Regions from separate parts of the Homo sapiens genome. Here regions 1, 2, 3 and 5 are each linked to region 4. Evidence: promoter capture Hi-C in 16 types of primary human blood cells and fetal thymus (Javierre and others, 2016). All regions are on one chromosome and are shown on one strand. The core of a region is centred on a gene start or on the middle of the fragment in contact, and the rest is flanking DNA. Distances in the headings are between cores, read along the strand shown. Region 1 overlaps LOC105375821 (a long non-coding RNA gene). Region 2 has its middle 210 kb from the start of LINC02947. Region 3 has its middle 190 kb from the start of LINC02947. Region 4 holds the start of CLXN (calaxin). Region 5 holds the start of LOC105375821 (a long non-coding RNA gene).

Region 1 (5,492 bases), core at 2,515-5,014, 330 kb after region 4:
AGTGGAATTGAAAACCTAAAATATAATTATGCTGGTTTTTATATTTGCCTATGTATTTACCTTTCCTGGAGATATTTATTGCTTCATGTGGTTTCAAGTCACTGACTAGTGTTTTATCATTTCACTCCTTTAGCATTTCTTATAAGACAGGTCTATTGGTGGCAAACTCCCTCAGCTTTTGTTTATCTGGGAATGTCTTAATCTCTCCCTGAATTTTGAAAGATAATTTTGCCAAATATAGAATTCTTGGTTGACAGTCTTTTTCTTTCATTTGACTTTAAATGTCATCTCCCTGCCTTTTGCCCTTCATGGTTTCTGGTTAGCAACTAGAAGTCTACTAGTAATCTTACTGGGGATCTCTTCTATTTGACAAGTCACTCCCTCCTTCTATTTTCAAGATTTTTTTTTTTGGCATTCAACAATTATATACCATGTCTAATGTGGATCTCTTCAAATATATCTTATTTGGAATGTGTTGTGCTTCTTGGATTTGTAGATTCATATCTTTTATCTAATTTGGGATATGTCCAGCCCTTCTGTCTTCAAATATTCTTGCTGCCCTCTTCTTTCTCTGTCTTTTCTTCTTCTTGGATGCCCATAATGCATATGTTGGTTTGCTTAATGGTGTTCTACAAGTCCCTTAGGTTCTATTCACTTTTCTTCATTCTTTTTCTTTCCATTCCATTTATAATCTACATAATCTCAATTGTCCCTTCTTCAAGTTGACTGACTTCCTTATGTCTGGTCAAATATACTGTAGAAATCCTCCAGTAATTTTTTTTTTTTTGAGATGGAGTCTCACTGCAATGCCCAGGCTAGAGTGCAATGGCACAATCTTGGCTCACTGCAACCTCTGCCCCCTGGGTTCAAGTGATTCTCCTGCCCCAGCCTCCCGAGTAGCTGGGACTACAGGTGCACACCACCGTGCCTGGATAATGTTGTATTTTTAGTAGAGAGAGGGTTTCACCATATTGGCCAGGCTGGTCTCGAACTCCTGACCTCAGGTGATCTGCCCACCTTGGCATCCCAAAGTGCTGGGATTACAGGCATGAGCCACCGTGACTGGCCCAATAAATTTTTCATTTCAATTATTATACTTTTCACCTTCAGAATTTCTATTTAGTTCCCTTTTGTAATTCCTATGCCTTTATTGATATTCTCAATTTGTTCATACAGCATTGTTCTGGTTTCCATTAGTTCTTTGTTTATGGTTCCCTTTAGCTCTTTCAGCATTTTTAAGACAGATGACTTAAATCTCTTTCTAATAGCTCCAGTGGTTTGACTTCCTCAGAGATGGTTTCTGTCCATTTATTTTATTCATTTGAATGGGCCACATTTAACTATTTCTTTTTATGTGCAACCTTTTGGTTAAAAACTGGAAATTTTATATAATAATATGGCAACTCTAGAAATCAAATTATTCTTCTCCTTTAGGGTTTGCTATTTATTGATTGAAGGCTGCAATAATCTGTAATCTATTTGTGCATTGAGTTTGTCAAACTATTTTGTTTCAAAGACTGTATTTCTTGTCATGTGTGGTCAATGAAGGCTCTGTTTCTTTAGCTTATTTTCAGCCAGTATTTTGATAGAGATTTCCTTGAATGCCCATAACTGAAAAATTTAAAACAAACAAAAGATCTCTCCTCATCTTTGCAAATTGACTGTGCTGGGTCACTCTTTCAACATTTAACTGATCTGTTTACAACTCTGCCTCAGCCTTCATTTTGTGCTGGAACTGAACCTACAGATCAGCCAGAAGTCAAACCTTTAAATCTCAAGTCTTTTCAGTGCATGTGTCCTGCCCTGGGTGTACATGTTGCTTTCTAAATTCCGCAGTATACGTGGGTACTTTTAAATGCTTTTAATTTCATGAAGAAACTCTATCTTTCCCTCTCAGGGAAACTTAAATATTCAATTACATGTCTTAATTGTAATCTTTTGCCCAGGAGGTTATGGATTATTTGTTTGCCACACAGTGTTTTGGGGCAATGCCCACTGCTTTTCTACCCCAAATCATTTCTGAGTGAGCCAAAACAGAGACAAGCATCTTGTGTCAGTCCTTCAGGTAGCCCTCAGACAGGTGAGAACAGGCAAATACAAAAATTTGTAAATAGGATTCCTAGAGTCAGAGACCAGAATTCCACCCTGGGAATGCAAGCTGACTTCCTCAAAACTGCTGCCAAGCTGGAAAGGGGGTGGAATAAGAGCAAACAAAAATGCCACAAAGTTTTCCTCCCATTTTTTTAAAGTTGTCTTTTCCTTGATTCAGCATTCTTTTGGTTACTGTAAACCTTTGACTGTTTTCCAGAGTTCTCACAGTTTCCGCTTGTTTTTGACATTTCTGTGGCGGGGCAGGAGCTGCCTATGCTTCCTCTGCCATTTTCCTAACCTGCCTTGCTGAGAGGGGATTTTTCAGAAGAGTTTTTGTTTTAATGGGGAGGAAGGGGTTCTATGATATTCGTGCTCAAGACACACGTACCTCAAGCCAAATAAGGGCACTTCACAGGCCCTGTGGCAACATGAAAGGCCTGTCAGAGAGGTCTTGGGGAATTGGACAGTTGTGACTACTTCTTGTTGAAAAAAGTCTAACCATGATAGGTTACCTAATCTGCCCTGACAGCAGAGCAAGGAGAACAGTCTAGAGCAGGACCTGCACTTCTACTGACAGGGCAAGTAATGGCCCATATCTCCATGAGCAACATTCCACAGTGCTGCTATTACAGCAAAAGCTGAGAGTTGGTTGAAGTGGTCAGGTAGACCACGCAAGTGTCTCCTTCTGAAATGGGTAAGGAAAAGGCAGCTTCTGAGCCCCTGGAGAGGTAACAATGTCAAATAATAACTGCACTAGACAAATGAGACCTTCCTGCCACCTACTCTCCTCCTTCCCAGCCCCTAACTCCAGAGTAGAAGGAAAGGGTGAAGAAATGTTCTCCTTTCCAGTGCCAGGTCCCCAGGCTAGATAAGGACTGAGATGGGGTCAGGGAGGGGAGACACTTTCAATTAGATGAGAGATCAAAGTTAGGATTTAATTCAGGCTTGACTTTGAATAGTTAGAAGTAAATAGGAAAACTATGATTTCTGCCTGAGATCTCCTCAAGAGCAATGAAGAAAACATCAATTGATTAATTAAAATTGGATTGTTTCCTGCTTTGCACTTTCCTAAGTCCATTCAATATATGGGTGACACACATAACTGGAATGTGAGTGGGGAAAAGGAGGGCAGAGAGAAGCAGGAAGTAGTCTGTTGTTTCACATTACAAGTCAGAAAAATTGGGGCAAGAATTCAAAGAAAATTTTAGCATGGTGCATTTAAAAACTTAGGGTGGAAATGTGTTCTCATGACACTGACTTCCCTGCTGTGTTATGGTAAGTGGGAAGGATGGATGTGAGCATGGGTCCACAGCTCCTCTCCAGAGAGGGCCCCTCCTCACTCTCAGGCCAGGACTCCTGGGGGTCTGCTGCTGGAATCCTGGTGAGGGCATGCCCCACCAGGAGCCTGTGTGGGAAACCATGTGCTCCTCGGTGGTTTCTTTAAACTTGGTGCCAGGGAAGCTTCAGCAAGTTGAACATCCCAGCTGTGCTCTGAGTGTGTGAGACGTCCCAACTCCAATATCCACCACAAAGTTAAGAAAGGAGAGAAGAGGAAAGGAAGCTGGAAGTTCTCTGAGTACTGGTAACTACCAAGCCCATCTGGACACAGGGGCTGTGGGGTGGCCTCTGCGAGAGCCACTCTTGTCTTCATGACTAAGGGGATGCCCAGCAGCATCTGCTCATCTTCTTCCGAAATGGACCCTGTTTAGGTTAGTCTTGCTGAGCACTTAGGTGCATGTCTTCCTGGTAATAAAATTGAAATAACGTATTTTCTTGGCTGCTCCATAAACTGTTCTATGAATTTATTCTACAGGAGAAAAGGAAGGAGGTGGAATAAATGTGGCATTGGCTTTTTGATTGTGGTTTTTATTTCCATAAAGCTTAGATCACAAGAATGCATGAGATATTTACACAAATCTTTCCACAATTCCTGTGGCCTGTGGGGGCATAGCATTTCTATGACTTCACCACCGTGGCTGGCGTGTGCTCTCTCAGCAACTTTGCTGGCGACAGGGAGCAGGCCCCACCAGGGCCTGTAGTTCTGGGGCAGAGCAGGCAAGGTTTGTGTGTACCTTATTTCTTCTTCCTTCCATGCTTTTTCTGTAGCAAATTCAACTTCGAAAAGCGGTCTGGGCTTTTCTCTATCATAAAACATGGTGAGTTTTCTTATCATTAAGTACTCACTCTTTCCTAGATCATTTCCTTGGGGATGATAAAGTCAGAGGATGATAACTGCGAAAAACCAGGCTTCATTCACCTTTGCCATGAGAAGACTCAAGGGCTGATCCATCCCAGGTGAGAGAAGCACGGGAAAAAGGCAGCTGTGAGGCAACAAGGCCCATCACACAAGCTTCTCAAGTGATTCAGATTTCTGTAGCTGCAACAGGTTCTCCAGCAGATGGGGGATGAAGCAGCCTGGGAGTCTCGGGCTGCGTGAGGCTAGACTCCAAGCTTCACATAGGCACAGGGTGCACAGCAGGGCCAGGTGGGCAGCCGCTGCAGGAAGACTACCTGCAGGAAGTCTTTAGACGCCAGCTGCACACACCAACATAAAGTAGCAGCAGTGTGTGCGGGTGATGGTTTCCAAGCCACCTGATGTGGAGCATAAATGACTCATCCCCTGTCCAGACACCACCCCGGCTTTTCTCACATTAGTCATCTTATTTCTTATTTCTCTGACTTTGCACTACTGCCCACTAAGAATGTTGGTATCATGATCATCACTTTAAATGATGGGGGACAGGGTTGGTAGAGGTTTGGGAACACACAGACCTCCTATGGCCATGGCCATTTGGCCACGTGAGCCCCTTCTGCACCCTCCTCCACCATCTGTGAGAGGCAGTGCACTTTGGGAGGAAAAGTATAACGTTTAGCCAAGGAGACTGGCATTTAGGTCCTGTCTTCACCACTTCTTAAGCGAGACACATGGTCAGCCTGCCTAGCCTCTCTGCCTCCTTTGCCTTGCCTGTGTAGTGGACATAACCACATCTACCTTGCTGAGCTTGCTGAGGATGGAATGCAGCTGCACTAGGGCAATGTCTGGGGCACAAGAGGTGTCTCAGCAAATGAAATCTGAATAAAGCTCCTGGTCTGAGCTGAGAACAAGCATCCTGTAATTCAGGTTTTAATTATCTTGATTCACCTAACATCTGCAGTGGGCAGAAAGCACTGGGGGCAGCTGTACCCGGCAGCCTGGCTGCCCCAGAGAGTGAGTGGGGCTCCTTCCACCCAAGAAACAGAACACTTTATCCACAGTAGGGAAATCTCAAGGCACCCAAGGGAAATTGTCCGGTGATTTACATGTGACCGTGTGGGCTTCACAGGTGGCAGGAAGAAGACCCAGTGTCCACACTGGGAGTAGGGAGCCCCTGAGAGGAGCCCTCAGGGTCCCAGCAGGAACA
Region 2 (5,198 bases), core at 660-3,159, 430 kb after region 4:
AGAGCACAGACTGCCTTAAAGCCCGACTGTATTTGAAAAACAGCCTTTTTCTTTTCCTCACCACTCTTATTCTTCTACCATTTAAGTTCTCTGATATGTTTCTAAGCAAGATACCTATTCCAAGAAACTTTTTTAAAAATTAAAAATTAAAGCTAGTGATGAAATGAAAAACACTCCAGTACAGGGATCACTTTTTCAAATCCACCAAGTCATGTCACTGTGAAATAGAAGTAAAAAAAAATCAGGGCCAGGAGCAGTGGCTCACACTTATAATCCCAGCACTTTCGGAGGCCAAGGCAGGCAGATCACTTGAGGTCAGGAGTTTGAGATCAGCCTGGTCAACATGATGAAACCCCATCTCTACTAAAAATACAAAAAGTTAGCCAGGCATGGTGATGCACACCTGTAATCCTGGCTACTCGGGAGGCTGAGGCACAAGAATCGCTTGAACCTGGGAGGTGGAGGTTGCAGTGAGCCAAGATCACACCACTGCACTCCAGCCTAGGTGACAGAGTGAGACTCTGTCTCCAAAAAAAAAAAAAAAAGAAGTAAAAACCCATTTGAAGGTGGAACAACATGACTGTCAATACATGCAACTCCAAAGTTTGAAAATAAACTTCAAGTTACATGCTTGCTTCAGCAGCACATACACTAAAACTGGAATGCTGGAGAGATCAGCATGGCTTCTGTGCAAGGATGACACGCAAATTCATGAAGAGCTCCATATTAAAATAAAATAATAATAATAAAACAACATTCAAATTACAACAGACATTATTAAATATTTTTCATTATTGCCATCTTATCACTAATAGTTTTCTATTTGGTTTTCTACCATGTGACAATCCTTAAAATGCAATTTTGAATTATTCTTAAATTTCTTTCCTTTATTTTAAAGAATGTTTTGTGCTTCCACCCAAAGGCAAAATGAGCAAGAGGAGCTTTATTTTATAAACAAACAGGAGGCTTGGAGCTCATCAAGTACTGATGCTAAGACTTGTTCAGGGAAATTGGCCCAGCTGCAGGCAGGTGGTCAGCTCTGGACTTGTCTGTGTGCACCTAAAATTGTGGTGGGTGAAAGTACAAACATGAGGATGTTAAAGTAAAGTCACATGACCTGCGTGTGCACTTCCTCAGGCACTTGACGGACACACAGTTTTTAAGCATAGTAAACATCAGATCATTTCCAAGGTAAGACTTCCTTTCCATTTTTATTTTTATTTTTTTGCAATGACAGGGCCTCACCATGTTGCCCAGGCTGGACTCGAACTCCTGGGCTCAAGCAATCCTCCCACCTAGGCCTCCTGAGTAACAGACTACAGGCACACACCACCACAACCAGCTGAGGACCTTATTCCCTAATAACATACATGATGTAAACGAAAGAGAAAGTTCTAGAGTTCCAAAGACAAATATGTTATATTCAGGAGCTCTCCTTTCACAAGATCCAGTGCTAGCAACTTCAGAGTAATTCTTTATTTAGAAAATATTCCTTTCAAGTGCTTTTAGAGTGGTAATGCACATTCCCGAACTTCCTCCTACCTGGGAGGTCCCCTCGGAAAACGTAATATTTTTACCTTCTATGCTCTGAAGCCCAAGTAAAGGATGCTACTATCATGTCCTACATTTTTTCTGTGTACTAACAGCATTGTGATAACTGTAAGTGGATTTTTCTGTGAGGTGTCTGGCATGTGTAAAACAAAGAAAGCTTGCCTGCATCTAATTAATCAGCACAGGCTCCGTCTGCTGGTTAATGAAGATGCCAGGTGCCCACAAAGAATACCATAGGTGTGAATTCTTAACACGGAAATGTTTACGAAAATAAATCAAATATTATACAAAATCACCAAAAATCTCAATACCAATGTAAAGTCTAGGATCTGCCTTTACCCTCCTTGTAAGCTAATAGGTTAGCCTATTTCAGTTTCATGGATGCTGGCAGCAGACATGAGACCCCTGGATCGGAGACATGGGACTTTATTACTCAGGACATGGCATGCATATGACAGTTCTCCTTTTCTTGAATGTGTATGGGGCTGGCATGGAGGGGCCCAGATGGATGTTTTACGTGCAGTGGGTTTGTGCCACATCTGACGAGCACTAAGCTTGGGGAACACACCACTGTCACATCAAACAGTAAGTCCGTCCACTCTTTGTCTTGGAGGGAGACCTTACTCAGTTCCTCAAGGTTACTCACTGCAAACACAACCTGAGAAATGGCCAGGCTAAAGGTCAGCCAGGGCTTTGCATTCTTGAAATACCCAGCAAGACTTGTAGACGTGCAAGAAACCCATGGAAAACTGTCCTTCTCAATAATGGTTACTATTGGTAATAATTTAAAGTTTCAACTTCATTAAAGTAATTGCAGAATTTATTTCTTCTTACTTTTTGTAGACGATTTCTTTTACTAACTTTCCACCATACTATACTGTTGGTTAAAACTTTCTAAAACTAGAAGTGAAAATTTCACTACCTTTTATCAAATAGTAGTTGGTCCATTTAGTTGAATTGTAAATAAGGATAAGTGACAACTAAAATTTCACGGAGTTTAAAATTTAAAAAAAAGTTTAATTACCATAATGTGAGACTCGTCAGTTATACGTGAATACTTTCCAGAGTCCCTTTTGAAGTATTCACAGCGATAGAATTTTAAATGGGATAGAGTATTATAGAATGGCAGAAATCCATAGATAAGCCCTTAAACTTATAGCATCACAGAATTTAAAGCCTTCGGGTTTGACAGAAACCAATTATAATATTTTGACAGCTGGCTTTTATGTTCTTATTTTGGCATTAGCCAAAAATCTTGTACCACCACAGTGTAACAGCTTTAAATCAAGAAGTGGTTGAGTTTCCACAATTGCTATAAACATTTCTGCTTTGCCTTTATAGAACACTTGACTGTCTCCAAAGTGTTTTCCCACACCTTCTCTCCTTTGCACCTCACCTTTACCATAATGTTTAGGTAGAAGATTTTGATATCTCCCTTTGAGGAAACTAAGAAGCAGAGCAGTCACATGAGAGCTGGGAGCTGGTGCAGTCCATTCCGAAGAGCTGGGCTGTATTTGCACCCCGTAGCTGCTCCCCCACTTTGCCACCAGCTCCCCCACTCTATCAGCTGAGAAGCTGCAGACAGCTGGTCACAGAAAACCTTACTCATACTTACTTCAGCTGCAAGGAATTTACAGGCTCTCCTGACTGAGCAAGTCCAGGGGAGGGGCACACTTCCAGGGAGGTTTGCTGAGGGCACATCTGTGGTCTGCCGTCCTCAGGGTGTGTGCTCCCTCCCAGGCTGACTAGTCTCATTAGAGTGAATTGCCCACAGCAATTCCAGGTCCAATGCCCACCCACCATCACTCAGATGCAAAGGGATGTCCTCCTCTCAACCATCAAAGAACATTCTTGACCAGCCTTCTAATTAGGCCAACCTAAACCAATCATTTTGGCCAGGGTGTGTGTCATAGATGCTAAGCGGCCACCCTAATGTCCACTACACTGATAATTTTGAAAAGTGTTCACGATGCAGCACTCAGTTTGCAAGGTGCTTTCTATGGATAACTTGCTAAGCTTTAACGGTCTCTGAGGTCATGGGATAAATGCAGTGCTTCATATGAATTAACTAATTTATTTTCCACACCCTTATGAAAACCTTATAAGGCAGGTGCTACTGTTATACTCGTTTTAGAGATGAGGAAACCAAAGCTGAGAGAGGTTAAGTGACTTGTCCAATGCCGCACAGCTCAGAGGCAGGAGATCCTAGATTCAAGCCGACAGGCTGATCCCAGAGCCCACATGCTTACACATGGCACCAAGCCGCTGCCTGTGGGAGAAGGAAAAACAGGAGTCCTGTGGCTACATGAATTTGGGAAGTCCTGCATAACATATTCCCCTCTTGGAGACTCACAGCGCACATTAGGATAAGAATATTCTGAGAAATCCTGCAAGAAAGAAATTTATTTAATTTGTTTAACTCAACATTTCCCAACCTCACATTGTTACAGAGCTTTTCTTGTCTAACACCTCCAGGGAATAGCTTTCCACCCATTTATCTGTCTTTAGTGAGGTACTCTGTCATATGACTAAAATAAAATTCATGATAAATCAGCTCCTTTTCCATGGAGAGCCTTTGTTTTCCTCGTTTTGCTTTGCATTGGCGAGTTCAACCAAGGCTCAGGGTCCCACGGTGCTGCTGTCTCTTCCCTGTTATACTGCCCTGATTGAGAGAGCAGTGATGGTCAGTGGGGGTTCTGTGTGGAGCGGAGGCTGCCTCCTAGGCTGGCATCTCATCTGTTTCTAGTACTTTTCTAAGTGAGAGTGTTTGGACACTGAACTAAATGAGTATTGGTAAGACAAAAATAGAGCAGCACTAACACTTCTGATCCCAACATTTTAAAGAGTTATACAGGAATGCTCACTTAGCTTTTAGTAAATAGAGAACAGTTTGTCCTTGCAGACATTCCTCAGGAAGAGAGAGGAAGAGGCACTACTAATAATTAGGTGGGTCTGAGCTGTTTTAGTCCATTCTCGCATTGCTATAAAGAAACACCTGAGACTGGGTTTAAAAAAAAAAAAAAAAGAGGGTGAGTTGGCTCACAGTTCCGCAGGCTGTACAGGAAGCACAATGCTGGCATCTGCTGGGCTTCTGTGGAGGCCTCAGGAAACTTTCAATCATGGCAGAAGGGGAAGTGGGAGCAGGCGTCTCACATGGCAGGAGCAGGAGCAAGAGAGAAAGGAGGAAGTGCTACACACTTTTAGAAGACCAGATCTCATGAGCACTCACTCAGTATCACAGGGACAGCATCAAGGCAATGGATGGTGCTAACCCATTCATGAGAAATCCATCCCCATGATCCAATTGCCTCCCGCCAGGTCCCACCTCCAACACTGGCGATTACAATTCAAATGAGATTTGAGTAGGGCAACATCCAAACTCTGTCATGGGCCCTTCAGATGGGAATGTGTGCAGAGTGCTCCCCACTGTTACAAAGTTATTTCACTTCTGTGACCCTGTGTGGCACACACAAAGCCCTCTCCCTCCAGGCTCCTGACTTGATGTCTGAGCATCTGACTTGGGCAGGGTCTGTCTTCATTTCCTCATGTTTTTGTAATGTGTCTCTTGTTCACAAAGTCAACCGTCAGGTCTATTGCCATTTGCTGCTCTGGTACAGTTCCCTCAGGCCACTTGTTTTTCAAAGCAC
Region 3 (5,281 bases), core at 2,717-5,216, 410 kb after region 4:
AGCACTGTGTAGTAATCAAGCTATTGTGTACATTTGCAAAAGATGAACCCACAGAATGTAGATCTGGAGAGGAATTACAAATCAGGAGAAAGCCAGCACTAACTCTACTCCCAGCACCCCTGGCTCAGGAGAAACCTCCAGAGCCCTGGAAGAAGGCCACTCCGCAGATCCCTAGGGCCTCAGGCACAGCCCGCAAGGGCAGAAGGGTGCTGCATGGAAGCTCTAGCCCTCAAAAGGTGCAGGGACCTGGCAGCATAGAGAAAGGGGATGGCACAGTGCCCTCCATGGAGCCCATGCCAGTGCCCCGGTGATGACGGAATCATTGAAAGGCCATCAGAAGATTTTACAGACTACATTGCATTTCTCAACTGTATTCAGACCAGGGAATAAATTATCACAGACACATTTAGGACTGTGAAGTCAACTGGGGTCACCCTAAAACAGAACCTTTTTAAAACCTTAAGAAAAAGTAACTATATAAACAGTAAAATCCTGAAAATACATAATATGCCCTTTTAAAAAAATGTCAGTGCCTTTTTCAAAAGCCATGTAAATTGCAGAGCCAAAAGGAAAAAAAAAGGTAGCTTTTCAAAGTGTTAGGGCAGTCATGGTTCTTTCACAGAGGTCCCTAGACAGAGATCCATAAAAGTGGGCAACACTTACTGCTGCTTCACCAGCTTGTGAAAGCCAAGACTAAAATGTCACTCCTACCTTCACTTCCTTCCACTCCCAAACTCAGATTGATATTGAACTAAGGGAAGAATCACTCCAAGCCGCAGATACCCAGGGCATGGCGTACCAAAACTCATCATTAGTGAAAGTGGCAAGCCTTCAGCATCCCCTCCCTGGGCCGGTCTTCTGGCTGCTTTAGGCATCCAAACAGCCCTGGGAACTGGGGTCCCCGTATTATAGGAAATGGAAGCACAGAGAGGCTGGGAAATGCACCCAAAGTCATACAGAGAGAAGGCAGAGAACAGAGATCCAAATCCACTACAGTCCGTGCGGTTTATTTCTGACAGCTTTAAATTCCTTTTTTCTGTATTAGTTTCTGCTCGGCTTTCAACGCTCTTGTCTTTTATCAAGTCTGATCTCAGGAAAGGATCTGGCATCAGCCATCTGTATCCCAGCATGATTTTTAGTCAGTATTATCACCTGAACCCATATACATGCATGGTTTTTCTAATTATGAAAATACAGAACCATGGAATTTTGAGACTGGAATAGCTCTGAGCAGTCGTCTAGTACAACTGCTTCCTTTTAAAGAAGCTCAGTTTTGGGTTCAAAAAGATAACGACTTGCTCAAGATCACACAGCTAAGTAGGTCTCTGAAGGACTCCTCATCCCTAAAAATCATACATTTCCTGAAAAATAATTGGCAATTTTTTTATCATTTTAAGGTTGACAATAAATCTTTCCATTAACGGTCAAAACCCTGAGGAGGCAAGATTCAATAAGAAATTTCTCAACTGCCAAAAGAAGTACGAGGACGTGAAATCGACCCTCGGAAGGATTCCTTCTCCATTAAAGGCCCGTCAAGTCATGTTGAGCCAGTGCAAGGAAGAGCTCAGGGAAGGAGCCCGTCCCTGCAGGGCTGCGAATCCCCAGCCTCGGTGTCCCGAGGGGGCTGAGTGGCTGCACTCCCAGGCCGTCCAGTAAGCCCCTCAGACATTTACGCCCGGGCCAGGCCCTCCACCACCGGAGAAGCCCGTGAGTCCAGTCACTGAGCAAGGACCTCAGGCTTTCCCGGCTGGGTGGGGCCCAGGAACTGGTAATCTGCACCCGGCCGGGATAGAGAGAGGCCCCCTTCTTTGCAGCTGGGCTTCTGGTCGTCGTTGGTAGACATCAGACTCAGGCGCTGGCTTTGGCCCTGGTTGAGACGATGCTCCTGTAGGAGAGGCCACGCACAGATGGCGGCATGATCTACAGCTGTTCAGAAGACGGTGTTGACAAAGCAAGCTTGACTGGGCTCATTGGGAGCCCGTAGGATGGCTCACTCTAATCCCAGATAGCCCACCTGGATCGCAACCTCCTGAGCCTCAGCAGCCACCCCCACCACACCCCCACTTGCTGAAAAAGAGCCAAGGTGCCCCCCAGATAAACTTTCCTTGGAGAGTCAGTTTTCACCCAGTTAAAATGGGATATAAACTTGGTTCTGAGCAGGATGTGAAAATGCCTGTGTGCTGGTCAGAACTTCGTGTGTATGAGGGACAAGCAGAGTCTGCCACCTCCAAAGCCAACGTGAAACACTGCTAAAGAAATCAACTTCTAAACACTGAATGAAACATTTTACTAAATTACCATTAATTGCGTTCATTCCCTACGTCCTTAGAAAAGATTTTGTAAGAGAAAAGAAACAAGGTTTTTCTTTTCTCTTTTCTCAACTTTTATTTTAGGTTCAGGGAGTGCGTGTGCAGCTTTGTTGCATGGATAGATTAGGTGTCACTGGGGTTTGGTGTAGAAATGATTCCATCACCCAGGTAGTGAGCATAATATCTGATGGTAGTTTTTCGATCCTCTCCTTCCTCCCACCCTCCAGCCTCCAATGGCCCCAGTGTGTGTTGTTCCCATCTTTACATCCATGTGTTCTCATCACTTAGCTCCTACTTATAAGTAAGAACATGTGATATTTGGTTTTCTGTTCCTCCACTAATTTGCTTTGGATAATTGCCTCTAGCTGCATCCATGTTGCTGCAAAGGACATGATTTTGAGGTTTTTTTATGGCTGCATGATATTCCATAGTGTATATGTACCACATTTTCTTTATCCAGTCTATCATTGAGGGGCATTTAGGTTGATTCCATGTCTTTGCTATTGTGAATAGTGCTGCAGTGAACATACGTGTGCATGGTAGAACAACATCTATTCCTTTGAGTATATACGCAGTAATGGGATTACTGGGTCAAATGGTAGTCCTGTTTTAAGTTCTTTCAGAAATCTCCAGACTGCTTTCCACAGTGGCAGAACTAATTTACATTCCCACCAGCAGTATATAAGCATTCCTTTTTCTACACAAGCTCACCAGGATCTGTTATAATATTTTTTGACTTTTTAATAATAGCCATTCTGATTGGTGTGAGATGGTACCTCATTGTGGTTTTAATTTGCATTTCTCTAATGATTAGCGATGCTGAGCATGTTTCATATTCCTGTTGGCCATGAACATGTATATCTTCCTTTGAGAAGTGTCTGTTAATGTTCTTTGCCCATTTTTTAGTGGGGTTGTTTTTCTTTTGTAAATTTGTTTAATTTCCTTATAGATAGTGGATATTAGACCTTTGTCAGATACACAGTTTGCAAACATTTTCTCCCATTTCATAGGTTATCTGTTTACTCTGTTGATAGTTTCTTTTGCTGTGCAGAAGCTGTTTAGATTAATTAGGTCCCACTTGTCTATTTTTGTTTGTGTTGCAGTTGCTTTAGGGGACTTCATCATGAAATCATTGCCAATGCTTATGTCCAGAATGGTATTTCCTAGGTTTTATTTCACGGTTTCTATAGTTTTAGGTCTTACATTTAAGGCTGTAATCCATCTTGAGTTGATTTTTGTATATGGTGGAAGGAAGAGGCCGCCCTCTTTCCAGGGCCTGCCCTGGTCCAGCTCTTCCTACAAGTCTTCCTTCCCAGCCCTTGCAGGCCTCTCAGGCCTGGGTGCAGCCTTCTCCCTGACCTCTGAGTCTGCTCCTTCCTCTGAATTGGTAGAGAGAGTGACCAGCTTCTGTGACCTGGGGACACAGAGGTTGCCTGGGCTGCACAACCACCCCACCCCACTTCATGCTGAGCCCTCCCCCGGGTCCTGGGCCCAGTGCATCTCTCCGTCTTCCCTGCTCATTGCTCTTGCCATTTCTCTGAAGCTGCATCTCAGTCTACCTCCTGTACTTTGTTTCAAGGCTCCTGCCTTCTCATTCCTCTTTACAAGCCACAATTTCACTTGGGCAAAAATAAACTTAACTCCGTAAAATACTGCCATCCACACCACGCAGCTTCCCCCCATCACCAATGCCTTCATTGTTGCCAGAATCACCAACTGCTTTTCTTCAGGAGTCATTTGCATGACCTATAAACACATTTCCATGTCCAGGACACCACCGTCTTGTTCACTTAACACCTGGTGTTATCATGTCATTCCTACCTCTCCTCCTGCTCAGAATCACCCTCTCAACTAGCACTCACTTTTGGGAGGAGTGCTTTTAAACATAATTTTAACGATTAACTTCACTTTTATTCAAAATTTGATTCTTCATCTAAATAAAGAGTTGTTGGGCAACTCTAAATGTAAAAATCTCCATTTACCTGGGAAAGTGTTGAATGTGACCAAGTGTTGAATGCACTCAAGAAATATTTGTTCAAAGGATAAATTGATTAATAGATGGATGGCTCGATGGATCAATGAGTCCCATACTACACTTTCTGCAGAGGCCAGCATCCATTTCACTTTGAGTTACAGCTCCAGAGCTGGGGGATAAGTAATGCGGTCATTAGGACTGCTCCTGAGCCGCCACCACCCCACACATACGGTCATCGGTCATTTCTAGAGGGTCTGTGCTGTAGAGCTTCACACAACGCAGCCATGAAACACAGGGGACCCAGTAAATGTAAGCTGATTGAAATTAAAGTAATCACAATAAAATAGTATTGCAGTCATAACCAGCTACATGTCAGGTGCTCACAGCCGTATGTGACTAGTGCTACCATATTGGATAGTGCATGTTATAGAACATTTTCATCAACATAGAAATTCTATTGAACAGTGCTTATATGGAGGGTATCTGAAAGCCATTTCAGATTCCCCAGAACCCCTTCCATGAGAGGTGACAACTCATAGCAGTACCCTGCTTCATGCCAACATGACCCATACTGGTCATATGAGATACCCTGTCATTTGCATGACATAACAGAAAATACATGTTTGGGTTTTGTCCCCAGTTCCTGGAGACAAAGTTCCTATCACTCACAATACTGAGTGACGGGGTGAGAGGAATGTGTTTCGTTATTCACAGCAAGCCCCTTTCCACCACACCTGAGTTTATGCCATTGAGGTGAGTCTTGGTGGACCCTAGACAGTTTCAGGATAGGGCTGGCTGCCCAGGAACCAACCATGTGATTAGAGAGTTGGAACTCTCAACTCCACACCCTGGGTCAGGGTCTGGAAATTGAGTTCAATCACCAATGGCCAGTGATTTAACCAAGCATGCCTACAACATGGAACCCCCATTAAAAACCCTTAAATGAAAGGCTTAGAGTGCTTCCCAGTTGTTGAACGCATTGAGGGGCTGGGTGGGT
Region 4 (5,630 bases), core at 851-3,350:
CAAAGTTTGCTCAACAGGTTAAGGAGTTTTGGCCCGGCATATTTTAATTTCAACAATCTGTGATATTGCCCCTACATCTTTTTATTATTTTTTTAACTTTAAGGGAACATGGCTGATGGGCTCTAGGCCTTAAACTCGTGAAGGAATAACTAATTAGCTTACCTATAGCAAGCACCCGGTGTATGCGATCTCCCCAGGCCACCAGAAATAACCACCAATGTGCTCACCAACAGCGCAGGCCTGCTCCCCAACACAGGCCTAGTACATCAGGTGGGGAGCCCACAGCGTCTCTTAGTAATTACTGACAACCACTCTTTCGGTTCCTTGTCTCTTGAAGTGAGCAGTGCAGCAATCTCTAGGAATTAAGTATTTGCTACAGCTCTGTGATCCAACAGAAATCAATAAGGTGTCACAGGTAAGTATAATTCAAATATGTCCAGTCTTTCCCTTTTGTTCTCTATGGTCTCAGGAATTTCACTCTTCTAGACAAGGGGATATGTAGAAACACTATTTAAAAATACTACTGTTACAAACTCATAATCACCATCAATTCATATCGGGTAACTGTTGTTAGGACATTTGCTTTAGGATAACACAGTCCATGCCTTTACCAAGCACCCTTTGCTCTAGTTTCAAACAGCATCCCAATCCTTCATTCCACAAACAAATGAAACAGTAAAGAAAAACCAGAGGCCTCGACATTGGAATTATTTCATTTGGGATTATTACTCATGGTTAGTAGAATTTTTCTGCCTTCAGTCTAAAAATGCCAGTATGTGTACAATAACATAGTTTGTCATTTTCCCCTCTGAAGTTAAACGAGCAGGCACTCTGGAGAATACTGTAGATTTGGTGATCCTGGCTGAGCCACCCCTTTTTATTGCTGCCTTAGCTGAAAGAGGATATCCCCTCTGTGATCAGGAAAAGCAGAAAGTCCTCCCACCCTGAAGATGTAAGGAATATCCTTTGTCTGCCGGCACAGAACTTGTCTTTCAAATAAGTAAAGGACCAAGGTTGCTGAGATATTTTCCGGAAAAGCAAGATTGGGCTGTACCCCACACCCAAGTGGTGTTGTCAGCCCGTTTTCATTGGGGGGAATGCCTATTTAAGCAGTATAAAAATTCCTCGTGGCTTTCCTCAGATTCCACAGACAACCTCCATCTTTTGGAAGTGAGATGAGGGCAGTGGGAAAAGAAAAAAACTACAGTCACAAGCCACATAGCGCCATTTAAGTCAACATCAGACAACATTAGGACAGTGGTCCCATAAGATGTAACACTGTACTGGAACACTGCACCTTCCCCAGAGTGCTTAGCACTCTGTTTTAGCTGCCTGCAGCATTCCGCGCTGTGACCTGCTGTGCAGGGGTGCAGCCCAGAAGCAATGGGTTGTACCATACAGCCTGGCGTGCAGTAGGCAAGGCCATCTAGGTTTGTGTCGGTGCACCGTGATGTGCACACAGTGATGAAATCTCCTAGTGACCTCGGAACGCGTCCCGCTCCTTAGGCAACCCGTGGCTGTATTCCAATTTCCCCTTGCTCTCAGAAACACAACTAAAAGCTCGAAGACCTCAGGTGACAGACTGCCTCCTGTTACCTCACCAAGACTGAAAACCTAAGCAGTGGCTCCGCCCAAAGAGCAAGCTTCTAGCCCTCTGACGGGAGGCCCGGCAAGATCGTCCTCTGGACAGCACCTTGCTATTTTGTGACGCTGCTCCAGCCCCCAAGATGTCCAAGATCTTGGGCCTTCCCTTGAGGCGTGACGCTCACGACCCGAAACACCTCTCATACAGCGTGCACACCACATTTCAGATTTTAATGATTTACACTGCAATCAAGCAAAGAGGCTGCGAACTCAAAAGCCAGCAACAACTGAACATTTAAACTCCAACGTCAACAGTCAGAATACAGCCCTCAAGGCGGCCAGCTGGGACCCTGCCGGCGGCACCGCGCACCGAGAACCCAGCGCGAGCAGTCGCTGAGCCGATGGGCGGGGCCCAGCTGTAGCTTTGGCTACGTCGCGGGCAGCCTGGGAGCCAATCCGCGGCGGGCTGAGCCGTTGCCTTGGCTACACCGTCTGTTAGGGCCGCGCACGAGATCAGTAACTGAGACCTCACCGCGTTGACCCAGCACCAGGGCTCGCGGGGGTCCCGCGAGGGTCTCGGTAGCCGCGCGCCCAGAGACCCCCGCCGCGGCCCGATTCTCTGAGCGCCAGACATGAACCGCAAGAAACTGCAGAAGCTGACGGACACCTTAACCAAAAATTGCAAGCATTGTAAGTAAGAATGTAGTGCTGGACAGGCCGAGGCTCCTGGACCGAGCCTGGGTCCCACCCCGTGCTAAGGTCCGCTGTTGTGCCTGCTTCCCGCCTGCTGGGACTCTGTGGGCTACCTACCGCCCCTCCACCCCGGCCCCTTAAGCAGAAGTCAGAGAGGGAATCCCGGGGTGCCAGCTCCTTGCGTTTGATCTTAGGAACCCAGGCCTCCGCCTCTGGTGCTACCTACACTCCCACACATGCATTTACTTGCTTCTCCAACCCTCTTCTTTTACCTGATAGAAACATGTGATGTTAGCCTCAATGAGGTGTAAAATAAATGCTAAAACCAACTGGTCTCAAGAAAAGTAGCACCACCAAGGTAGACCGTGCACTCACCCTGCTTTATAGCTCGCACATACACCCGCAGGTCCAAGTTCTGGAAGCTTACCAAGAGACCCATAGGAGAAAACGGTGCTCAACTTCTCAACATCTTTCGGAGAGATGAGTTGTGTCATCTCATCTGTGCCTCAGAACAATATTTGTTTGGAAACCAGAGTTCAGCACAACTAAACACGTGGTAAAGAATGGGTTCCCAACTTTAGACTCCCACTTTCCAGTGGCCCCTGGTGTTGAAAGATAAAGGAGACTTTGCAGGTGACAAGATGAGCCCTATTTGAAGGCACCTGCTCTAATCTCGCATTTGAAAGGGTGGTCCTAGAATTTCATAGGAAACTTTGAGTTTATATTCAGACTGAAAAACATAATTGCACTTTAGCAAGGAAGCCGTGGGTATGGTTTAGATGAGGAAGATAATTTCCTGTCGAGCAAACTTAGAAGTTGTGTGTGCTAATTGCAAAACTACTGGCCACTTGAAGAAACAGAAGCAACAATCCCCCAAATAACCGAGTCGCTCAAAAAAGAAGGAATAAACATGTTGATGTAGTTTTAGAGATTGTAAGATCTAGTGCATTCTAATTATCATTAGTATCTGATTTAATACCTGGTAAGAAATGCTCTCTTAGTGGATGGTGATATAAATGAATATTATGGTGTGTGTACGCATCTTAAAATGTTTAGGAAAAAAATCCTGTAATTTAAGATATTATTATGACTACTATACTCTGATGAGGGTTTTGTTCTGTTATTGTTTTTCTTAAAACACTTTCATTTCTGGGAGAATAGGTATTCTTCTAGTAAACATCTAGTAAACATTTTTGATAAATATTCAAAAACAATGCAATAGCTGCTATACACAATACTGATTTTGTCCCTTTCCGTAAGTTTGAATTTGATTTAGTCTCTGTTCGGTAAGTTTGAATGCATTGCAGACAATCATTCTGTGAACAATCAAAAGGTGAGTGTATATTTTTAAAGGTAAGTAAAAATATGGCAGGAAAAAGTCTGCTCTTGATTTTTTTGTTTACTAAAAAATTTTCAATGAGTCTTACAAACTTAGATGATTATTAGTTAAAGTCTATAGAAATAGTTATACGTCATGGACATTATAATAATTTTAAATTTTCTTTAACGGAAGAACTTTCCCCTAAAGTTAAATTTTGTTTTAGTTGCAAGACAATAAAGCTATCAAGATTCAATGGATAAATTTTGTAGAATCAAAGAAGAGTGAAAGATCTTAAGAGAACATCTAGTTCATGCACTGTTCTACAGATATGTTCTGCAGGACACATTCACAGCATTCCAAGAAGATGAAAACCTATTCTTGAATTTTCTTGTTTCATTTAGTATTGTATTCTAGAATTTAAGAAATGTTTAGCAATAAAAGTTTTCTTATGGCTAACCTTTGATCCTTTGGGTAATAAATTAAACTAGTTTTTAAAAATTTTTATTTCAGCTGAGATGGAAAAATGGCTAACCAACATCCCCTCTGCTACCATTTTATGTACATGAACAGAGTACATCATTCTTCATGCAGGCTTTTCTTCCGCAACAACTAACAGCTCTTGCTTTTTAGGAGGTTTGTGTGTGTGTGTGTATGTGGTTACATATAACATGAAATTTACTATTTTAACCATTTTAAGTGCTTAATTTCATGGCATTAAGTACATTCACACTGTTCTGCTTGCAACACCACCATCCACCTCCGTAACTTGTTCATTGTTCCCAGTGGAAACTCTACCCATTAAATGTTAACTCACCATTCCCTCCTCATCCTAGTCCCTGGCAACTATCATTCTACTTTGTCTCTATAAATCTGACTAAGTACCTTATATAAGAGGAATCATACAATATGTGTCCTTTTGTGTCTGGCTTATTTGACTAAGTGCAATATCCATAAATGTTCATCTATGTGTCAGAATTTTCTTCCTTTTTAAGGCTGAATGATATTTCATTGTATGAATACACCACATTTTGTCTATCCATTCCTCCATTGATGGACTCTTGCATCTGTCTTTTGACTGTTGTGAATGATGACACTATGAACATTGTTGTACAGGTTCCTGCTTTCAGTTCTTCTGAGTATGTAAATAGAAGTAGAATTCCTGGATCACGCAATAATTGTGTTTAATTTTTATGAGGAGCTATCATACTGTTTTCCACAGTGACTAACAGCTGTTTTTGAAATCATAACCATTATATTGTTTCCTACTATTTATTTGCTGAATCTTTTTTCCCAGACTTTTTAGTGTTTCTCTTTAAATGTGGTTTTCCAAACCAGAAATCCCACAAATGCCTGTACTGACCTCTAGGATGAGGTGTGATTTTTCCATTCCTAGATGCTGTCTTCTGTTATACACACACAGGTTTTGTCCTTGTTTGTTAAAATGCTCAATCACAGTTTTGACTGGTTTCAAAATAAATTTTCCCCAACTTCCGCCCATACTTGGTATTTGAGCTTTTATATTATCAAGACCAGGCAATAACCCTTCCACCTACATTCTCAAATGGGGATTGGAACACAAATAATTAACTCGGTATTTATAACCATGGTCCTTTATACAATAATGTGTATGAGCAAGTATCTGTTTGTGTGTATATCCTTTAAATAAAAATTTCCTTCCTCCAAACTATTACTGAATAGTTGCATGTTAATTTTTACGTAATCCTCAAGAAGAGCCATATTGGGTGCTAAAATATGCTTTAAAGCTTTTTTATTGGAAAACTGGTGACTCTAGTTTCCAAAATCTGGCTTATGAATTAATGAAGGCTAAACTGAAATGAAAATTGTTACCTAATTCTCATGAATCTGACATCTATTTCCAGGGAAAAGAAGTTGTAAATCTCGTAAATGCCATGGTAAAAATACTGAGAAAAAGTTACCATTCTTTAGTCTTACCATTCTTATTTTGAGACGTATTTCTACTAGCCTTGTAGAGTTTAGAATCCGACACCACCATCATTATTCTAGTAACTTG
Region 5 (5,592 bases), core at 2,503-5,002, 390 kb after region 4:
GCCTCCCCGGATAGCTGTATTCATAGGTATTTCATTATTTTATGGCAGTTGTGAATGGGATTGTGTTCCTGATTTAGCTCTTGGTTTGATTGTTATTGATGTATAGGAATATTAGTGATTTTTCACACTGATTTTGTATCCTGAAACTTTGCTAAAGTTGTTTATCAGCTTAAGGAGCTTTAGGACTGAGAATATGATGTTTTCTAGATATAGGATCATGTCATCTGCACACAGGAATAGTTTGACTTCCTCTCTTCCTATTTGGATGCTGTTTATTTCTTTCTCTTGCATGAATGCCCTGGCCAGGACTTCCAATACTATCTTGAATACAAATGGTGACAGAGGAGTGGTGATAGAAGGCATCCTTCTCTTGCACTGATTTTCAAGAGGAATGCCCCATGATTTCTAATGGGAATGCCATTGTGGTGACAATTAGGAATGGTGACAGAGGGCATCCATCTGTCCCCATGATTTTCAAGGGGAATGCTTCCAGCTTTTGCCCATCCAGTATAATGTTGTCTGGGGGTGCGTCATAGATGGCTCCAGTTATTTTGAAGAAAGTTCCTTCAATACCTACTTTATTGAGAGATTTTAACATGAAGGGATGTTGAATTTTATTGAAAGCCTTTTCTGCATCTATTGAGAGATTATGTGGTCTTTGTCTTTAGTTCCACTTATGTGATGAATCACATTTATTGATTTGTGTATGTTGAAGCAACCTTGCATCCTGGGGATTAAGCTTACTTGATCATGGTAGATAAGCTTTTTTATGTGCTTCTGAAGTCAGTTTGTCAGTATTTTGCTGATGATTTTTGCATCAGTGTTCATCAAAGACATTCACCTGAAGTTTTGTTTTTTGTTGTGTTTCTGCCAAGTTTTTGTATCAGGATGATGCTACCCTCATAGAATGATTTAGGGAGGAGTCCCTCCTCCTCAATTTTTTAGAATAGTTTCAGCAGGAATGGTACCAGCTTTTGTTTGTACATTTGGTAGAATTCAACTGTGAATCTATCCGGTCCTGGGCTTTTTTTCATTGGTAGGCTATTTATTGCTGACTCAATTTCAGAGCTCATTATCGGTCTATTCAGGGATTCAGTTTCTTCTTCTTTCAGTCTTGTGAGGGTATGTGTGACCAAAAATTTATCTGTTTCTTCTGTGTTTTCTAGTTTATATTCATAGAGGTGTTCATTATATTCTTCAACTGTTATTTGTATTTCTGTGGGGCCAGTGGTAATATCCCCTTTATCATTTCTAATTGTGTCTCTTTGAATCTTCTCTCTTTTCTTCTTTATCCTATTTTATTGATTTTTTTCAAAAAACAGTTCCTGGATGCGTTGATCTTTTCCATGGTTTTTTGTGTCTTAATCTCCTTCAGTTCAAACTGGTTTTGGTTATTTGTTGTCTTCTGCTAACTTTGGTATTTGTTTGCTCTTGATTCTCTAGTTCTTTTAGTTGTGACATTAGGTTGTTAATTTGAGATCTTTCTAACTTTTTGATGTGGGCATTTAGTGGTATAAGCTCCCCTCTTAACACTACCTTAGCTGTGTCCCAGAAATTCTGTTATGTTGTATCTTTGTTCTCATTACTTTCAAAGAACTTCTTGACATCTGTCTTAATTTCATTATTTACTCAAAAGCCATTCAGGAGCAGCTTATTCAATTTCCATGTAATTGTATGGCTTTGAGTGAATTTCTTAGTCTTAATTTCTAATTTGATTATGCTGTGGTCTGAGACATTGTTCGCTATGACTTCAGGTATCTTGCATTTGCTGAGGAGTGTTTTGCTTCCAAATATCTGATCAGTTTTAGAGTATGTGCCATGTGGCAATGAGAAGAATGTATATTCTGTTGTTTTGGAGTAGAGGGTTCTGTAGATGTCGTCAGGTCTTTTTAATCTAGTGCTGAGCTCAGGTCCTGAATATCTTTGTTAACTTTTTGTATCAATGATCTGTCTAATATTGTTAGTGCAGTGTTAAAATCTCCCACTATTATTGTGTGGGAGTGTAAGACTCTTTGAAGGTCTCTAAGAACTTGCTTTATGAACCTGGGTGGTTTGTGTTTAATGCATATATATTTAGGATAATTCGATCTTCTAGTTGAACTGAACTTTTTATCATTATGTAATGCCTTTCTTTGTCTTTTTTGATCTTCGTGGTTTAAAGTCTATTTTGTCTGAAACTAAGATCGCAACCTCTGCTTTTTTCTATTTTCTATTAGCTTGGTAGATTTTTCTTCATCCCTTTATTTTGAGCCTATGTGTGTCATTGCATGTGAGATGGATCTCTTGAAGACAGCATACCATTGGGTCTTTATCCAGCTTGCCACTCTGTGCCCTTTAATTGGGGCATTTAGCCCATTTACATTCAAAGTTAGTATTGATGTGTGTGGATTTGTTCCTGTCATCATGATTTTAACTGGTTATTTTGCAGACTTGTTTATGTGGTTGCTTAATAGTGCCACTGGTCTGTGTACTTTGGTGTGTTTTTGTAGCAGCTGGTAATGGTCTTTTCTTTCCATATTTAGTGCTTCCTTCTAGAGCTCTTGTAATGCAGGTCTGCTGGTAACAAATTCCCTCAGCATTTCCTTGTCTGAAAAGGATCTTATTTCTCCTTCACTTATGAAGCTTGGTTTGGCTGGATATGAAATTCCAGGTTGGAATTTCTTTTCTTTAAGAAGTTTGAATATTGGCCCCAGATATATTCTGGTTTGCAGGGTTTCTGCTGAGAGGTCCAGTGTTAGTCTGAAGGGCTTCCCTTTGTAGGTTACCTGACCTTTCTCACTAGCTGCCATTAACATTTTTTTCTTTTATTTTGACGTTGGAGAATCTGATTATGTGTCTTGGGGATGATCTTCTTGTGAAGTATCTTAGTGGGGTTCTCTGCATTTGTTGAATTTGAATGTTGGCCTCTCTAGCTAGGTTGGGGAAGTTCTTATGAATGATATCCCCAAGTATGTTTTCCAAGTTGGTTTCATTCTCCCCATCACTTTCAGGGACACCAGTGAGTCATAGATTTACTCTCTTTAAATAATCTCACATTTATTGGAGGTTTTATTAATTCCTTTCCATTCTTTTTTCTCTATTCTTGTCTGACTGTCTTATTTCAGAAAGCCAATCATCAAGTTCTGAGATTCTTCCCTTTTCTTGGACTATTCTGTTATTAATACTTGTGATTGCATTATGAAATTCTTGTAATGTGTTTTTCAGCTCTATCAGGTTGGTTAAATTCTTTTTTCTATACTGGCTATTTTGTCTGTCAGCTCCTGTTTTGTTTTATCATGATTTCTAGGTTTTTTGAATTGGGTTTCAATGTACTCCTCTAGCTCAATGATCTTCCTTCCTATCCATATTCTGAATTCGATTTCTGTCATTTCAGCCATCTCAGCCCAGTTCAAAATACTTGCTGCAGAGGTGATGTGGTCATTTGAAGGAAAGAGGGCATTCCAGCTTTTAGAGTTTTCAGGGTTCTTGCACTGATTCTTTCTCATCTTTGTAGGCTTATCTCCCTTCAATCTTTGAGGCTTCTGACCTTTGGCAGAGTGTTTTTTTTTTCTTCTTTTATACTACCTGATGACATTGAGGGTTTGATTGTGGTATAAGGTGAATTCAGATGGCTGGCTCTATTTCTGGAAGATTTTAGGTAGACAGTGCTCATCTCCCATCTCATGGACTCTGTGCTCTGAACTGGTATTGGGCCCCAGCTTTGTTCTCTGGCTCCTCAAGGTTAAGAATCCACTTGTGCCAGGGGGTGGGGGGCCTGAGGTGTGGCAGCTATGACAGAGTGTTTGCAGGTGCCAGGGTGCCTGTCTCCCTGCAGGCATTTACTACGGTGACAGAGGCAACACAGCTGGTGGGGTGGTGTCAGGGGGGCCCTTGCTGGGGACTATGTGCACAGTCATGCTAAAGGTGGTGTTGGCTCAGGGGTAAGGTGCTGGTGGACACAGATCTAGGTGCCTTATCTGTGCCCCACAAGCAGGAGTGATTGCTAAGGGCAGGGGAGAATCCACTGTTCTCTACACAGTGTTAGTGCAAGGGCAGGGTGTTGGTGGGGGTGGGGGTGGGACTGGTTGACTCTCTGCCCACCAAGGCTTCATCTGCAATGGCAGTCAGTTGAGGGAGGAGGGCCAGACTGCACTCCCTTGCACTGGTGGAGCAAGGAAAGCAAAACCCATCCATGCAGATGGGCAACAGCAAGCAACATGGGGAGTTGCCATGGACTTGGGGGAAGCTGCAGTATGGGGAGGGAGCATGCAAGCTGCTGTATGGCCATAGTGGCTGCCCCATTAGACCTCTCCACTGGTCAGGCACAGTCCACCAGCACAGAAGCTATGGTGCAGGCCCCCAGGGCACCTGAGACTGCTCTGCAAGCAGGTGTGGCCAGGCTGAGGCCCTAAGAGAGGCCAGCAGACCAACGGGTGCTCAGATGAGACGAGCACCATTGGATGAGCAAGATTGCCCTGCAAAGTTCAGGCCTGACAGTTCCCCTAGTGAATGTCCTTTATTTCTTTCCCTTGCATGATTGCCCTGGCCAGAACTCCCAATACTATGTTGAATAGGAGGGTTAAGAGAGGACATCCTTGTCTTGTGCCAGTTTTCAAGGGGAATGCTTCCAGCTTTTGTGCATTCAGTATGATGTTGGCTGTCAGTTTGTCATAGGTGACTCTTATTACTTTGACGTATGTTCTTTCAAAACATAGTTTATTGATTACTATGTTAGTTCATTCTCATGTTGTAATAAAGACATACCCAAGACTGGGTAATTTACAAAGAAAAAGAGGTTCAATGGACTCATAGTTCCACATGACTGGGGAGGCCTCACAATCATGGTGGAAGGCAAAGAAGTAACAGAGACACATCTCACATGGCAGCAGGCAAAAAAGCTTGTGTAGGAGAACTCCCCTTTAAAAAACCATCAGATCTCATGAGCCTTATTCACTATCATGAGAACACATGGGAAAGACCCGCTCCCATGATTCAATTACATCCCACTGAGTTCTTCCCACAACATGTGGGAATTATGGGAGCTACAATTCAAGATGAGATTTGGGTGGGGACACAACTAAACCATATCATTCCACCTCTGGCCCCTCCAAAATCTCATGTTCTCATATTTCAAAACCAATCATGCCTTCCCAACAGTCCCCCAAAGTCTTACCTCATTTCAGCATTAACTCAGAGGTCCACAGTTCAAAGTCTCATCTGAGACAAGGCAAGTCCCTTCTGCCTATGAGCCTGTAAAATTAAAAGCAAGTTAGTTACTTCCTCGATACAATGAGGGTACAGGCATTGAGTAAATACACCCATTCCCAATGGGAGAAACTGACCAAAACAAAAGCACTACAGGCCCCATCCAAGTGCAAAATCCAATAGGGCAGTCATTAAACCTTAAAGTTCTAAAATGATCTCCTTTGACTCTATGTCTTACATCCAGGTCATGCTGATTCAAGAGGTAGTTTCCCACAGCCTTGGGCAGCTCCACCCTTGTGGCTTTGCAATGTATAGCCCACTCCTGGCTGCTTTCATGTGCTGGCACTGAGTGTCTGAGGCTTCTCCAGGCACAGAGTGCAAGCTGTCAGATCTCCATCTGAGACCACC

The links. Contacts are between HindIII fragments. The CHiCAGO score rates a contact against its expected background, and 5 or more counts as called.
Region 1: a fragment that was not itself captured here is called in contact with the fragment with the promoter of CLXN in region 4 in 1 of 17 cell types (endothelial precursors); the score reaches 5.1 in endothelial precursors.
Region 2: a fragment that was not itself captured here is called in contact with the fragment with the promoter of CLXN in region 4 in 1 of 17 cell types (endothelial precursors); the score reaches 5.2 in endothelial precursors.
Region 3: a contact is called between a fragment that was not itself captured here and the fragment with the promoter of CLXN in region 4, in 4 of 17 cell types (endothelial precursors, M1 macrophages, M2 macrophages and 1 more). The highest score is 6.6, in endothelial precursors.
Region 5: a fragment that was not itself captured here is called in contact with the fragment with the promoter of CLXN in region 4 in 1 of 17 cell types (endothelial precursors); the score reaches 5.2 in endothelial precursors.

The regions. Positions count from the first base shown.
Region 1 is chr8:48,407,166-48,412,657 of GRCh38, reverse strand. All of the region lies in intron 2 of LOC105375821 (a long non-coding RNA gene), which reads right to left. Among named protein-coding and RNA genes, the nearest start is that of LINC02947, 110 kb to the left of the region's middle. The HindIII fragment of the contact is 419 bases long and covers 3,555-3,973 here.
Region 2 is chr8:48,303,460-48,308,657 of GRCh38, reverse strand. It overlaps the pseudogene RNU6-295P. Among named protein-coding and RNA genes, the nearest start is that of LINC02947, 210 kb to the left of the region's middle. The HindIII fragment of the contact is 397 bases long and covers 1,711-2,107 here.
Region 3 is chr8:48,325,492-48,330,772 of GRCh38, reverse strand. No RefSeq gene overlaps it. Among named protein-coding and RNA genes, the nearest start is that of LINC02947, 190 kb to the left of the region's middle. The HindIII fragment of the contact is 4,016 bases long and covers 1,959-5,281 here.
Region 4 is chr8:48,731,738-48,737,367 of GRCh38, reverse strand. CLXN (calaxin) reads left to right here and starts at 2,100. Exons shown (of 6, transcript NM_024593.4): 1 at 2,100-2,274. The coding sequence starts at 2,217. RefSeq lists an enhancer at 2,021-2,695. The HindIII fragment of the contact is 1,056 bases long and covers 1,646-2,701 here.
Region 5 is chr8:48,346,387-48,351,978 of GRCh38, reverse strand. LOC105375821 (a long non-coding RNA gene) reads right to left here and starts at 5,189. Exons shown (of 4, transcript XR_001745891.1): 1 at 5,153-5,189. The HindIII fragment of the contact is 2,255 bases long and covers 2,625-4,879 here.